Linked DNA regions of Homo sapiens: region 2 is linked to region 1. The links are contacts of gene promoters, found by promoter capture Hi-C in blood cells and fetal thymus (Javierre and others, 2016). All regions are on one chromosome and are shown on one strand. The core of a region is centred on a gene start or on the middle of the fragment in contact, and the rest is flanking DNA. Distances in the headings are between cores, read along the strand shown.

The links. The method cuts DNA at HindIII sites, captures the fragments that hold promoters and counts their contacts. A CHiCAGO score of 5 or more calls a contact.
Region 2: a contact is called between a fragment that was not itself captured here and the fragment with the promoter of SLC30A6 in region 1, in 2 of 17 cell types (total CD8 T cells and neutrophils). The highest score is 5.7, in total CD8 T cells.

The regions. Positions count from the first base shown.
Region 1 is chr2:32,161,384-32,169,178 of GRCh38, forward strand. It overlaps SLC30A6 (solute carrier family 30 member 6), which reads left to right and starts at 4,481. Exons shown (of 14, transcript NM_017964.5): 1 at 4,481-4,520. The coding sequence starts at 4,518. SLC30A6-DT (SLC30A6 divergent transcript) reads right to left here and starts at 4,356. Exons shown (of 1, transcript NR_185886.1): 1 at 3,658-4,356. RefSeq lists an enhancer at 5,801-6,317. The HindIII fragment of the contact is 4,145 bases long and covers 1,200-5,344 here.
Region 2 is chr2:32,443,833-32,451,627 of GRCh38, forward strand. BIRC6 (baculoviral IAP repeat containing 6) reads left to right here. Exons shown (of 74, transcript NM_016252.4): 21 at 1,689-1,836; 22 at 4,963-5,096. Among named protein-coding and RNA genes, the nearest start is that of MIR558, 84 kb to the right of the region's middle. RefSeq lists an enhancer at 3,433-4,010. The HindIII fragment of the contact is 4,466 bases long and covers 1,088-5,553 here.

The DNA of each region.
Region 1 (7,795 bases), core at 3,231-5,730:
GCAAAGGGAAAAAAGGAATTAAGTGAAGTCCAGAGGAAACCAAGCACCAGCTTCTAAGGGTTCTCTCCTAATGAAGTCACACAGGATGTCACTCCAGCAACAAGTGACAGCATGTGAAAGTGTTAAGCCTCACTGTTAGACATAGTAAGCTTGTTAGGGAATAGAGGGAATCTCCCCTCAAATTCAAGTTCCCAGATGCCTGGCAAGGGCCAACCTTGCCAGCAGGACTTTCTGGGGATAGCAGTCCCAGGCACGTGTTTGCACAGTGGTTCAGATCAATGTGCTTACATTGGGTAGAGGGGACCTATGGAAGTCCAAATTTGGGTGTCAGAGACCTAATAGGGTGAAGACAGTGTCTACAATGATGGACAGCTAGGTATGAGGTGTCAGGGACAGATTGAGGCAGTTATTCACATGGTGGATAGGGGCAACCTGGAATGAGGAATAAGCTCAAGCACAGAAAGGGGTGTCCATATGGGGTAAGGGTGTCAGCAGAGATGGTAGATTGGTTGCACACCAAAGACTTGATGGAATAAAGTGAATATACTAACCACAGAGAAGGTAATTATAAATACAGAAAGGGGGGAAACTAGAATGAAACCTGGAGTTCAGCTTGAATTGGGTTTAAGAAAGTGAATTCATGGTTTAAAATCTATAAAAATAGATGAAATATCGGCTGGGCACAGTGGCTCACGCATATAATCCCAGCACTTTGGGAGGCCGAGGCGGGCAGATCGCTTGAGATCAGGAGTTTGAGACCAGCCTGGCCAACACTGCGAAACCCCATCTCTAGTAAAAATACAAAAATTAGCCAGGTGTGGTGGTACACACCTGTAGTCCCAGCTACTTGGGAGGCTGAGGCACGAGAATCACTTGAACCTGGGAGGCAGAGGTTGCAGTGGGCTGAGATCGCACCACTGCACTCCAGCCTGGGCAACAGAGCGAGATCCTGCCTCAAATAAAAATAGAGGACATATAAGCATATAAATATACACGTGTGTATGTGTCCAAATATGTATATTCCCTAGTCTGTCCACCAAGGTGGCCTTGGAGCAGTTATGCTCCAATAATAATGAGCACATAAAGTACCCATATCTTGCCTTCCAAATTCTTCACTGTCTTAGTCTGCTTGGGCTGCATTACAAAATACCATAGACTGGGCAGCTTAAATAACAGAAATTTATCCTCACAGTTCTAGAAGCTTGGAAGTCCAAGATTAAAGTACCAGCCAGTTTGGTTTCTAGTGAGGGCTTTCTTCCTGGCTTGCAGATGGCCACCTTCTCACCGTGTCCTTGTATGGCAGACAGCACAAGCTCTCTGGTGTCCCTTTTTAAAAGGGCATTAATCCCATCATGACAGTCCCATCCTCATTATCTCATCTAACCCTAGGTACTTCCCAAAGGCTGAATCACCAAAGACCATCACATTGCTGGTGAAGGCTTCAACATATGAATTTGAGGGACACGAATATTCAGTCCATAACATCAACTAAAGGAACCAAGACTCTTTGATAAAATGGCTAAATTCAGGGCTGGGGCAGAGAAAATACATGAGTGTGGAACTTCTTGTGCCAGAGAGAAAAAGTGCCCAAAGATTGATGAGGATGAATCATTGAAATGACACACAGATTAAAAGGGTTCCCACTGGACAAATTTGAGCATCAAAATAAGTAATAGTAGTAATTAATTATAACCCATCAGAAGAAATAAACCATGAGCTCATGTGAATATATGAATACAAACATAAACAAATTACAAGCATAATGAGGAATGTGATATTTATATGGTTTAAAGGTACCTCTCCAGGCCGGGTGCAGTGGCTCATGCCTGTAATCCCAGCACTTTGGGAGGCCAAGGCAGGTAGATCACCTGAGGTCAGGCATTTGAGACCAGCCTGCACAACATGGTGAAACCCTGACTCTACTAAAAATACAAAAATTAGCCGGGCGTGGTGGCACGTGTCTATAATCTGCCACTGATTAGGTGTGTGATTTTCCCAAGCAGGGGATAATAGTAGTACCTATGTCAAAGGCTGTTATGAGGATTAAATGAGCTAACACATAATCGTGCTTTTTTTTTTTTTTTTTTTTTTTGAGACAGAGTCTTGCACTGTCGCCTGGGCTGGAGTGCAATGGCACGATCTCGGCCCACTGCAACCTCTGCCTCCCAGGTTCAAGTGATTCTCCTGCCTCAGCCTCCTGAGTAGCTGGGATTACAGGCTCCTGCCACCACACCTGGCTATTTTCAATAGAGACGGGGTTTCACTATGTTGGCCAGGCTAGTCTCAAAAACCTGACCTCGTGATCCACCCGCTTTGGCCTCCCAAAGTGCTGGGATTACAGGCATGAGCCACTGCACCCGGCTTTTTTTTTTTTTTTTTGAGATGGAATCTCTCTCACCCAGGCTTCATCTCAGCTCAGTGCAACCTCCGCCTCCTGGGTTCAAGCAATTCTCCTGCCTCAGCCTCCCGAGTAGCTGAGATTACAGGTGCCTGCCACCACACCCGGCTAAGTTTTATATTTTTAGTAGAGACGGGGTTTTGCCATGTTGGCCAGGCTGATCTCAAACTCTTGACCTCAAGTGATCTGCCTGCCTCAGCCTCCCAAAGTGCTGGGATTACAGGCATGAGGCACTGTGCCTGGCCTCAAATTCTTAGAATACTGCCTACCACATATTGAATGTTCATTAAATCCTAGGTATAGGACAGGGGTGTTGGCTCATGCCTGTAATGCTAGCATCTTGGGAGGCTGAGGCAGGAGGATCACTTGAGCCCAGGAGTTCCAGACCAGCCTGCGCAACATAGCAAGACCTCTCCTCTACTAAAAAAGATTACTGTGGCTGCAGTGTGGAGAACAGATTGTCGATAGATGATAATACCTACGATTTTATTTATTTTTTACTTCTTATTTATTTTTTTGAGATGAAGTGTTGCACTGTTGCCCAGGCTGGAGAGCAGGGGCACGATCTCGCCTCACTGCAACCTCTGCCTCCCGGGTTCAAGCAATTCTCCTGCCTCAGCCTTCTTAGCAGCTGGGATTACAGGCACCCGCCACTACGCCCAGCTAATTTTTTTTATCTTTAGTACAGACAGGGTTTCACCATGTTGGCCAGGCTGGTCTCAAACTCCTGACCTCGTGATTCGCCCGCCTAGGCCTCCCAAAGTGCTGGGATTACAGACGTGAGCACCACACCTACTCAGTTGTTCTGTATACCATTACATGTTCAGCAACCCTAATCCAACCATCTGAAATTAAAATGCTCCAAAATCAAAACTTTTTGATCATCAACACGATGCCACAGTGGAAAATTCCACACCTGACCGCATGTAAAAAGCTGTAGTCAAAATTTTGTTTGATACACACACAATTTTTAAAATTGCATAAAATTACCCTGAGGCTATGTGCATAAGGTGTATACGAAACATAAATGAATTTCAAGTTTAGCCTCTGGCCCCATCCCCAAGATAAAGAGCCACAATCTGAAACAGTTCTGGTCTTAAGCATTTGGGATGAAGGATACTCAACCTATACCCAGTTTTCTACACGACACTACTTATGAATATCTTTTAAAAATTTCTTTATCCCTACTTGTTTTCTGTCTTCCCTACCAGAATATAATTTTCACGAGACCAGTATCTGACAAACACACGTGCTACATATTCAATCTTTATCGAATGAATTTAATATTTTCCAAGTTTTCTATAATTAACATTACTTCTATATTATTAATTTTATAGAGAATCCAAATAGCATTTTATTAAGTAGACCATTAGTCGGTCCGAGTTCAAATTCTGCTACTACAGCAAACTATATGTAGGACTCAAGGCAAGTTTCTTTTTTTTGAGACGGAGTCTCGCGCTGTCGCCCAGGCTGGAGTGTAGTGGCGCGATCTCGGCTCACTGCAACCTCCGCCTCCTAGGTTCAAGCGATTCTCCTGCCTCAGCCTCCAGAGTAGCTGGGATTACAGGCGCGTGCCACTACGCCCGGCTAATTTTTGCATTTTTAGTAGAGCCGGGGTTTCACCATGTTGGCCAGGCTGGTCTCGAACTCCTGACCTCAAGTGATCCGCCTGCCTCGCCGCCGAAAGTGCTGGGATTACAGGAGTGAACCACCACGCCTGGCGGAGGCAAGTTTCTTAATCTTCTTTCCTCACTTGTAAAACTGGAATACTGTCCATTTTCATAAGGTTAAATCATACAACACAGGTAAAAGCGCTTCAGCACGCAACGAAATTTTTCTAACGTAACGAAAAACTCCTCGTTGCTCCTTGCCTTGCCCTTAACCTCAACGCTTCAGGTCCCGACCAATCTCTCGGAGAGCTCAGAGGGAGCCGCTCTAGCCGCCTTCCGCCACGGAGTGCAGGGACAGCCGGGAAGGGGACGGAAGCCGGAGGCCAGAGCACGCACTTCCTCCCACGCTTTCCTCACAGCCAATCGCCCACTGGTGCCCCACCCCTTCCGTTCTGGGAAAACTCGAGCACCCAGAACGGCTTCCGGCGGGAGCTGTGCAGCTCCTTATCATGGTGAGTTGGCTGTTGGGGTGAGGGTTTCGGCTGTAGCTGATTCGGTTTATCTTATTTGGTCCCGAAGCGACCTTGAAATCCCTCAGCCACCCAGAGGAGGGGTCATTGGAGTTGAAGTCGGGCCCCTTGGCAGGAGCGGCTGTCTCCCAAAATGTTCCCCTTCAGAGTTCTGGTCCCTTTCGGTCCCTCACCTGTTCCGCAGGCGCTCACGATCTAGGCCCCGCTGCAGGCAGAGCTTTCAGCTCCTGGCGAGTTTCTGACTTCCCTCTGCCGAGATTTCTTTAAGGTAATAAAAGTTTTTGCCAGCGTCAACAACTAGGCCACCAACAAAAGATCTGAAAACAAGTCCACAGCAACAACTGTAATAGTGATTCTTAGAGCAGTGGCGATAACGCCAGCGGAAAAAAAAAAAAAAGGTTAGTAATAGGGTTTTAGGGCAGACGTCTCACTCTGCAACTTGGCTTTACTAAATATTAAGTAGCCTGATTACGGCAGCAAATTTCATAAGCGCAGTAACTACAGAAAGTCAAGGTGTTGGTAGGACATTTTATTGCTGCTTTATTTCTGGGTTTGTAGAAACTAATGGAAGACCCAGTAGACGTTATGGTTGTTGGGATATGGTGTTTTCTCTCAAATTTGTTAGAATTAGTCATTCTTTGCCTTTAGAGCTCAAATATATAGCTCTGAACTTTAAAGATAAGCAGTTGGTTGGGATTTGAAGTGTCCAAGTGGCGTGTGCCTTTTGAAAATGCATTTATTAGAAAAATTTATGGAGTACTTATTGATAGCCTACGTATGAGAAAGAGACCACATTTCTGTGCCTAAGCTTTTGTCACTGTACTAAGTTTTTTACTTAAGTGGATATGGTCGGGAAAATGCCTCATTCACACACTTTATGTTTTGTAAATTTTCTGTAATCCTTTTGCACACAGAAAATGGGTAAAAGTTTACACTTTTTGGCTAATGATCAAATAGCCTTCAGTTACGCTCTTCTTCAAAACATTCACCATTGTGAAGCCTGTAGCCAGAGTTATATTTCTAAAATTTGACCACATCACTCCCTTACTCAAATTTTCTCCTTTTTTTTTTTTCTGTAGCACTCAAGATAAAGTCCTGTTTAGCATGGCATACAAAGCCACTCATTATCAAGCTTCTTACTTTTACAGCCTCTTTTTTTGTTGTTGTTTTCGAGACGGAGTTCCACTCTTGTTGCCCAGGCTGGAGTGCAATGGCGCGATCGCGGCTCACCACAACTTCCGCCTCCCGGGTTCAAGCGATTCTCCTGCCTCACCTTCCCGAGCAGCTGGGATTACAGGAATGCGCCACCACGCCTGGCTAATTTTGTATTTTTAGTAGAGACGGGGTTTCTCCATGTTGGTCAGGCTGATCGCGAACTCCTGACCTCAGGTGATCCTCCCGCCTCTGCCTCCCAAAGTGCTGGGATTACAGGCGTGAGCCACCGTGCCAGGCCACAAACTCTTTTTTTTTTTTTTTTTTTAATGCATACATGTATGCAACATCCGTATTTCAGCCACAGTGAATAGCTTGCAAATCATGCTGTATTAATTGAGCCTTTGTACCTAATTTGCATATGCTCTTCCATCCCCAGAATTGTTCTCTGTTCTCTATCGGCTGTCCTTATCAGAATAACCCTTATATATCCTTAATTATTTTTCATGAACCTTTCCCTCATGTTCCAGTATCCTCTTAGTTGCTTCTCCTTTGTGCTCTGGTGGTACCTTGTGCTTTTATATGCACAAACACACACACACACACACCAGTTTTGTTACATAAAGCTGCACAAAACGAATACATACAATAGAAACTTAACTTGCCTATAATACTGATGATTTGAAGGGAGTTGAAGATAAAGGGATAAGAGACTTAAAATTCAGAGGTCTTTCAGATTATACACCTTCATTAACTCACAGCCCTAATTTAAGAAAGTAAAACTTGAATCTCTTGTGTTTTTTACCAGTAACATCTGTAATCCTTACAGACGATGTTAAAGTTGTGTACTTATTTGTCTTTCTCACTTTCTAGACTGTAAGCTCATTGAGAGCAGGACCTATGTATTTCACCCTAATTCCCAGAGCTTTGTAGCGTGCCTGGCCCAGAGGAAGTTTTCAATAAACATCTGTTTTATAAGACACTGAAAACTTATGGCACTATATCTTTATGCTTGAAACATTAGTATTAGTCATGCAGGGAAACAGTATTTAAGGTTTATTTTAAAGGATATTGAGAAAAGGTTTTGCGTTTATTAAGAACATGCTATGTGAAAACAGTACTTTCTTAGAAAATATAAAGAAAAATACAAATAAAACGTCTGTTTTATAAAGCACTGAAAACCTATGGCACTATATCTTTATGCTTGAAACATCAGTATTAGTCATGCAGGGAAACAGTATTTAAGGTTTATTTTTTAAAATAAATATTTTAAAATAAAATATTGAGAAAAAGGTTTTGTGTTTATTAACATGCTGTGTGAAAACAGTGCCTTCTTAGAAAATATAAATAATATAAATATATAATATTAAAAATATAAGTATATAAAAACAAAATATAAAGGAAAATAGCCCTTGTCATTAGTGAAGTTACTAAAATTACAAAGCAATGTAACAAGTTGAAGGCTTTACTTTGGTTAATGCAAAATAAGTGGCATAAAAAACACTATAGTTTGGAATGATCTAGGAAGACTTCATTTAAGAAGTGAAACATGAAACTAAGTACTTTGTGCCCCACTCTAATACTCTTAATCTAATACTTGTTTGTCATTATATGAATAAGAGCTTGGGTTAGACAGATCTGGCCTTTTCACGCAAGAGTGGTCATGAGACAAAAGAGTAGACCAGTTTAACTGAAGTTGAGGGTTTCTATCTGGAGTAAGAGATAAGACTGGAAAGAAACAGGCTAAGTCATTGAAAACCTGGAAATTCAGGTTGTAAAATTTGTAGTTTATTCTGATAGCAATGGCGAGCCAATATAATTTTGGGAAGAGTGATATGACATTAGGATTTTTGTTTTATTTTCATTGTCAGGATGGCATCAGAAGTGGCTTTCTGCCTCTTAGAAACCTTGTTGATTCTCTTAACCTGAAACTTAAAGTTGGCTAGGGTTAAACAGAAGATGTCCAAAATAACAGTATTAAGGAGAATTTTTTAAATCTTTGGAACCAAAATAACTCACACATAATTCTTTAAGAAAAGAATATATATACATATGTACATACACATATATATAATATTTATACATATGTACATTTATTTATGTAT
Region 2 (7,795 bases), core at 2,071-4,570, 280 kb after region 1:
TCTGTACTTCATTACAATCATTGAGTTGTTTGGTTGTTTACTGACTGTAACAGATCAGATGCCAGAAACCAGAATTCCAGCATGTGCCAGGGAGGTGACATAAATAAGTAAAACGGTCCAGGTGTCATTGCACATGCATATGTTTTGTGTGATTGGTAGGGACTATGGCAAACTGGAATTTCCTAAAAGGGACCAGTGGTTTTTTTTTTTTTTTTTTAAAGCACCTGAGGACTCTGTGGAAATGCCTTTCAAGAATGAATGTAATTGGAGGTAGAGAGTAGAATGATGGATACCAGAGTCTGGGAGGGTGAGTGGGATTTGAAGAGAGGTTGATAAATTAGTATGAACATATGGTTAGAAGAAATAAGTTCTAGTGTTTGATAGCACAGTAGGGTGACTGTAATTTGTGGTATATTTCAGAATAGTTAAAAGATTTAAAGTGTTCCCAATGCAGAGAGGTGATGGATATCCTAAATACCCTGGTTTGATCATTGTGCATTGCATCCATATTTCAAAACATCACATATACCCCCTATATATGTGCAATTATTATGTATCAAAAAAGAATGAAGGTAGTTATCAAGTAGGAATTCATAAAGCAGTTCTCTAAAATAGCACATATATAAGGTAATGAAGATTTTTAAAGATTCTTACTGTTTTTGCTAGTACATGGTGTTACTATGAAGGGCTACTAACTTGGCCTTTTAAGCCAAATTTTATTTATTGATAGACATTTTTCACAATCTGTTTTATTAAAAAACAAACCATTCAGGCTGGGCACAGTGGCTCACACTTGTAATCCCAGCACTTCGGGAGGCCATGGAGGGAGGATTGCTTGAGGCCAGGAGTTTAAAAAAACAACCCATTCAACAAGTTACCTCAGTGAGTTATATATTTCATAAAGATTTCATCTTTGTGTTAAACAAAAAAAATGCTTGTTTAGAGTTGTTGAAAAGTTATATCATTTTCTTAATTTAGGTAAAGCGTGTTTATATTTACATTGAACATATTTTGGCTACAACCATTAACTCTATGGAATAGAACATTTTGACTCAGTTGCTCATTACGATAGTCTCTAATGTTTAAAAGCTTCTTAAGGATAGTTTTAAAGTTGGGACGCTTAAGTTTTGGCATGTATGTAGCAGTTAATAAAAGTAAAAATACACTGTCATGATAATCTTTTAAGCAATGTCGATCTGTACCTAACGCATTATAGAATAATTTTATTCCCCATTCATTCACTAAAATGGGCTGTTTGAAGCTCACTGCCATCCACTATTTTTTAAAGTTTAGTACAGAGAAACAGTATGTTGGTAAGGATGATTTGAAGGACCTTCAGTCTCCTCACTTTTTCAGCTATTTCGAAGTGTCCCTCAGAGGCATCTCACATTATTATACACCTAAATAAATACACATTATTATACACCTAAATGACTTTATAAAACTCTCCAGAAATATTTGAAATTCTTAGTGTAAGACTGTGCCTCAGTGTGTTGTTTATATTTTAAGTGTCCTCTTTGATCCCTCCAAGGAGTTATCTTTGTAAATTGCCTATAAGATTGTCTTTCCAGAAAAGGGAGTATCTTTCTAGCAAAAGGAAGTATTCTGATAAATAGGTAATCTTAAATTCTCATTGTTAGAGGAAAAGGAGGAAAAAGAAACATTTATTTTGTTTTTATTGTTTCCAGGTTCTGTCTATTGGTATTTTGTCTTACTGAATTATGTGAAAGATGAAGATCTGGCTGGATGCAGTACAGCTTGTGCATCTTTGCTTACTGCAGTGTCCAGACAGTTACAGGACAGGCTAACACCAATGGAGGCTTTACTTCAGACAAGGTATTTTAGTATATCTAATGACTAATAATAGGCGTCTCTGAGTATGATCACGCTTTTGCAGAGAACTGTTATTTAATATATATATGCTGATAACAGTCTTTTTCTTACAAAAATGTTTAGTTTATACCTTACTTTTTCCATACGATAATAGCCTGAGGTTTTACTTTCTTCTGTTTTGTCAGAAATTACTCTTTTTTTTTTTTATCGAGATGGAGTTTTGTTCTTGTTGCCCAGGCTGGAGTGCAATGGTGTGATCTCAGCTCACCACAACCTCCATCTCCCGGGTTCAAGCGATTCTCCTGCCTCAGCCTCCCGAGTAGCTGGGATTACAGGCATGCACCACAGGCCTGGCTAATTTTGTATGTTTAGTAGAGACGGGGTTTCTTCATGTTGGTCAGGCTGTTCGCAAACTCCCAACCTCAGTTGATCCGCCCGCCTCAGCCTCCCAAAGTGCTGGGATTACAGGCATGAGCCACCGTGCCCGGCCAGAAATTACTCTTTAACAGTTTGATAAATCCTTATGATGGTTATTCAGAGGGCTAATTTTATTTAATAATGAAAAGTGGTATGCCCTGCTAATGGAAGAAGAATGTAATGTGTCTGTTTCTCTGTGCACTTTATAGGTGGAATTATGTGAGTCACTTATTGTCCCATAACTAGTATTCTTCTACCTGCTACTTGTATTTCAAAACTTCTAACGTGATGAATTAAGCAATAGCAAAAGGTTAGATTTAAGTTCTTGCCTGATTGTCTACGTTTGAAGTAAGGCGTTCCTTTATTTAGAGCAGTGATTTTATAATTTCCTAGGTTAGATGTTCTGATTTTGATGACATTTTACTCAAAGCCTTTGTACTTGAGGCTATGTCGTAATGATTCACGGGAGAGAATGGTGCCTGATACCCCTCGCTTCAATCTGCAGGTGGCAGTCTTAGTACCTTAGTTGCCAGCTTATTGGAATCACATTTGTTGAGTCTCTGGACAGTGTCTTTTAGAGTATAGATTGCAGGGAACATAGTTGAGATTCACTGAATTTGATGGGTCAAATCTAGTCAGCATCTCCCTCTGCGCTGTTTTTTTTTTTTTTTTTTTTTTTTTTTTTTTTTATTGATCATTCTTGGGTGTTTCTCGCAGAAGGGGATTTGGCAGGGTCATAGGACAATAGTGGAGGGAAGGTCAGCAGATAAACAAGTGAACAAAGGTCTCTGGTTTTCCTAGGCAGAGGACCCTGCGGCCTTCCGCAGTGTTTGTGTCCCTGGGTACTTAAGATTAGGGAGTGGTGATGACTCTTAACGAGCATGCTGCCTTCAAGCATCTGTTTAACAAAGCACATCTTGCACCGCCCTTAATCCATTTAACCCTGAGTGGACACAGCACATGTTTCAGAGAGCACAGGGTTGGGGATAAGGTCACAGATCAACAGGATCCCAAGGCAGGAGAATTTTTCTTAGTACAGAACAAAATGAAAAGTCTCCCATGTCTACCTCTATCCACACAGACCCGGCAACCATCCGATTTCTCAATTTTTTCCCCACCCTTCCCGCCTTTCTATTCCACAAAACCGCCATTGTCATCATGGCCCATCCCCAATGAGCCGCTGGGCACACCTCCCAGACGGGGTCGTGGCCGGGCAGAGGGGCTCCTCACTTCCCAGTAGGGGCGGCCGGGCAGAAGCGCCCCTCACCTCCCGGATGGGGCGGCTGGCCGGGCGGGGGGCTGATCCCCCCACCTCCCTCCCGGACGGGGCGGCTGGCCGGGCGGGGGGCTGACCCCCCACCTCCCTCCCGGACTGGGCGGCTGGCCGGGCGGGGGGCTGATCCCCCCACCTCCCTCCCGGACGGGGCGGCTGGCCGGGCAGAGGGGTCCTCACTTCCCAGTAGGGGCGGCCGGGCAGAGGCGCCCCTCACCTCCCGGACGGGGCGGCTGGCCAGGCGGGGGGCTGATCCCCCCACCTCCCTCCCGGACGGCGCGGCTGGCCGGGCAGGGGGCTGACCCCCCCTCCCCCCTCCCGGACTGGGCGGCTGGCCGGGCGGGGGGCTGACCCCCCCCACCTCCCTCCTGGTCGGGGCGACTGGCCGGGCAGAGGGGCTCTTCACTTCCCAGTAGGGGCGGCCGGGCATAGGAGCCCCTCACCTCCCGGACGGGGCCGCTCGCCGGGCGGGCCCCCCTATCCCCCCACCTCCCTCCCGGACGGGGTCGCTGCCGGGCGGAGACGCTCCTCACTTCCCAGACGGGGTGGCTGCTGGACGGAGGGGCTCCTCACTTCTCAGACGGGGCGGTTGCCAGGCAGAGGGTTTCCTCACTTCTCAGACGGGGCGGCCGGGCAGAGGCGCTCCTCACATCCCAGACAGGGCGGCGGGGCAGAGGTGCTCCCCACCTCTCAGACGATGGGCGGCCGGGCAAAGACGCTCCTCACTTCCTAAATGGGATGGCGGCGGGGAATAGGCGCTCCTCGCTTCCTAGATGGGATGGCGGCCGGGCAAAAACGCTCCTCACTTTCCAGACTGGGCAGCCAGGCAGAGGGGCTCCTCATATCCCAGACGATGGGCGGCCAGGCAGAGACGCTCCTCACTTCCCAGACGGGGTGGCGGCCGGGCAGAGGCTGCAATCTCGGCTCTTTGGGAGGCCAAGGCAGGCGGCTGGGAGGTGGTTGTAGCGAGCCGAGATCACGCCACTGCACTCCAGCCTTGGCACCATTGAGCACTGAGTGAACGAGACTCCGTCTGCAATCCCGGCACCTCGGGAGGCCGAGGCTGGCGGATCACTCGCGGTTAGGAGCTGGAGACCAGCCCGGCCAACACAGCAAAACCCCGTCTCCACCAAAAAAAACCGAAAACCAGTCAGGCGTGGCGACGCGCGCCTGCAATGGCAGGCACTCGGCAGGCTGAGGCAGGAGAATCAGGCAGGGAGGTTGCAGTGAGCCGAGATCGCAGCAGTACAGTCCAGCTTCGGCTCGGCATCAGAGGGAGACCGTGGAAGGGGACCGTGGAGAGGGGAGAGGGGAGAGGGGAGAGGGGAGAGGGAGAGCCCTCTGCGCTGTTAGTCAGACTGCTTTTAAAACTAAGTAAAGGTAATTTGTTAATTAGATGGCTGAAAGGAAAATTGTTAGTGCATTATTTTATTTTTCAGATATGGATTATATAGCTCACCATTTGATCCAGTCCTCTTTGATTTGGAGATGAGTGGCTCTTCTTGTAAAAATGTTTATAACAGCAGCATTGGTGTCCAGTCAGATGAAATTGATTTATCAGATGTCCTTTCAGGTAGTGATTTCTTTTATTAAAGGAAATTCTGAATGTTGTATCTTGGATTTAAGTTGCCATTTGACTTAATAGATTATAGTCATGATGTTTTGTCTTTAGAAAACTAAAATTCCTTAGAACTTATCATATGAATTATTAAAATGTTTCCTAGAAGTTCTTAACTTCCTCTTTCCCTCTGAAGAAAATCCCAGTATATTAAAGTCATATTTGAAAGGGTTGTGACTTTAATTTTTTGTTTTTGTTATGCATTTCATTTCAGTGTGATTTTAATGCTTATGAGACTATTTAAAATGTATTTGTTGTAGCCTTTTCAGTTTTATTTGATGTATCTTTGCTGCCTCTATAAAGTTAAAAAAGATTTCCTATTTCAAAAATACAAAATTAGTAATATATACTTACTGTAATAAGGATGCACAAACAAAAGATAATTTTCTGCATCTGTCACTTTCTTGAGGTAAGCTTTGTATACATTACGTATATCCTTTTATACTTTCTAAAGAATGTGTTTTTCGGATGTATGCATGACACTATTTTTATAATCTTTTTAAGTGCTAAAATTTGCTGTTTATTTTTGTTAGATAAAAGAGTGACCATTTCATTTTTTTCTTCCGTCTAATTGTACTTATTGCAGATGTTGTTAGGATACAAAAATGTTAGAAAATTTGCAAACAGATTAAGGTAATAACCAGATATAAGTAAATTTTGAGAGAGAAGTTCAATTTTGTTGAAAAGTAACTTATGAGGTGTAATAAAAGCAAAATTAAAAAGATCAAATACAAAAATATAAATGAAATGTAAAATGCCTCAACCCCAACCTTTCCACCCTCTTAGGTTACTATTGTTAACTGGATGTTTAGCTATTTAAACTTGTTTGCAACCTGTATTCGTTAATATAGTTTCTAATGAAAGAGCATACTACACATACTGGTCTGTCACTTGCTTTTTAATTGCTTATGCTGCCTTGAATATATGTGTTATTACTATTTGATGACTTAGGCTCTTGATTGCCTTACACGCATCTCACCATTTTCTGTCTTCTCTATCCAAGTGATGCATCAATTAGACCATTGTAATTTATGATTGGAACTAGTAGGAGAGACTAGAACTGGAGATACCAATGCCTTCAGTATACCAAAAGAAGCAGTGAAATCTGTTAGGGTGAAAGCGTAAGGGAAGGACTGTAAGGTTCATTCCAAGCTCTGAGGTCATCAAGTTTGCAAATGAGTAAAGAAGACTCAGAACAAGGAATTTAGAAATCATGATATGTCGGCCGGGCACGGTGGCTCACGCCTGTAATCCCAGCACTTTGGGAGGCTGAGGTGGGCAGATCACGAGGTCAGGAGATCGAGACCATCCTGGCTAACACGGTGAAACCCCGTCTCTACTAAAAATGCCAAAAAATTAGCCAAATGCGGTGATGGGCACCTGTAGGCTGAGGCAGGAGAATGGCGTGAACCCGGGAGGCAGAGCTTGCAGTGAGCTGAGATAGCGTCACTGCACTCCAGCCCGGGCGAAAGAGTGAGACTCCGCCTCAAAAAAAAAAATCATGATATGTCTCCACTTTAATGTCTCATTGTGTTGTTCCTCATTATTAGTCTCTCTACAGCATTTTTTGTTGTTGTTGTTAATGGCATCAGTGGCACAAGACAGAAATGTAAATGTCATTCATGATACTTATATCTTTCTTATCACCCACATTGAGGATATCACCATATGGCACCTATTTTTCCACCAGTGTATGCAGTTGTTCCTCTCTATCCGTGGGGAATTGGTTCCAGGACTCCTCGCAGACAACAAAATCTGTAGATACTCAAGTCCCTTATGAAAAATGATGTAGTGCAGTTTGTGTATAACTTACACACATCCTGCTGTGTGCCTTAAATCATTTCTACATCACTTATAATACCTAATACGATGTTAATGCTACATGAGTACTTCTTATACTGTATTGTTTAGGGAATAATGACAAGAAAAAAAGGCTGTAACAGACTCAGCCATTCATTTTTTTCCCCTGAATATTTTCTGTCTGTAGTTGGTTGAATCCATGGATGCCAAACCCACAGATACAGAGAGCTGAGTGTATGTCAAGTTTGCTCACTCTGTTACCTCCCATGATCACAAGTTACAGTCATCTTGAACCCATACTACAATCATAGCTTTCACACTGGTCTGCCTACATCTGTTCTTGCCTCACTTTAGTGCATTCTCCACATTGCATTGAGTATGATCTTTCAGTTACTTTACCTTTCTCCTTAGAGTACTTTTCAGGTCTTCCCATCTTCTGAAGTTCAAAGTTTCTAATACAGCATATAAAATCCTAAATGATTTGGCTCTCTTTTCCTTGCCACTTTATCTTGTGTCATTGCCCCGTTTAGTCTTTTTTGGCCCTGTGATTCTCAAAGTGTGTTCTATAGACCCCCAAAGGGTTCCTGAGATCATTAAGGGGATCTATATGGTCATAACTATTTTGATGATAGTAGAATGATGTTATTTGTCTTTTTGATTTCGTTGACATTTTTATCGATTGTGAAAAAGCATGGTGTTATTCACTGTGCACTTGTAATAAAAATGTCGGTTTCATTTTAAAATGCCCTTGACGTTGCAGTAAAAATTATTAATTTTATTAAAATTTTAACCCATGAATACACATCTTTTATTCTGAGATGAATGATACATATGCATAGAGTACTTCTGTGGCA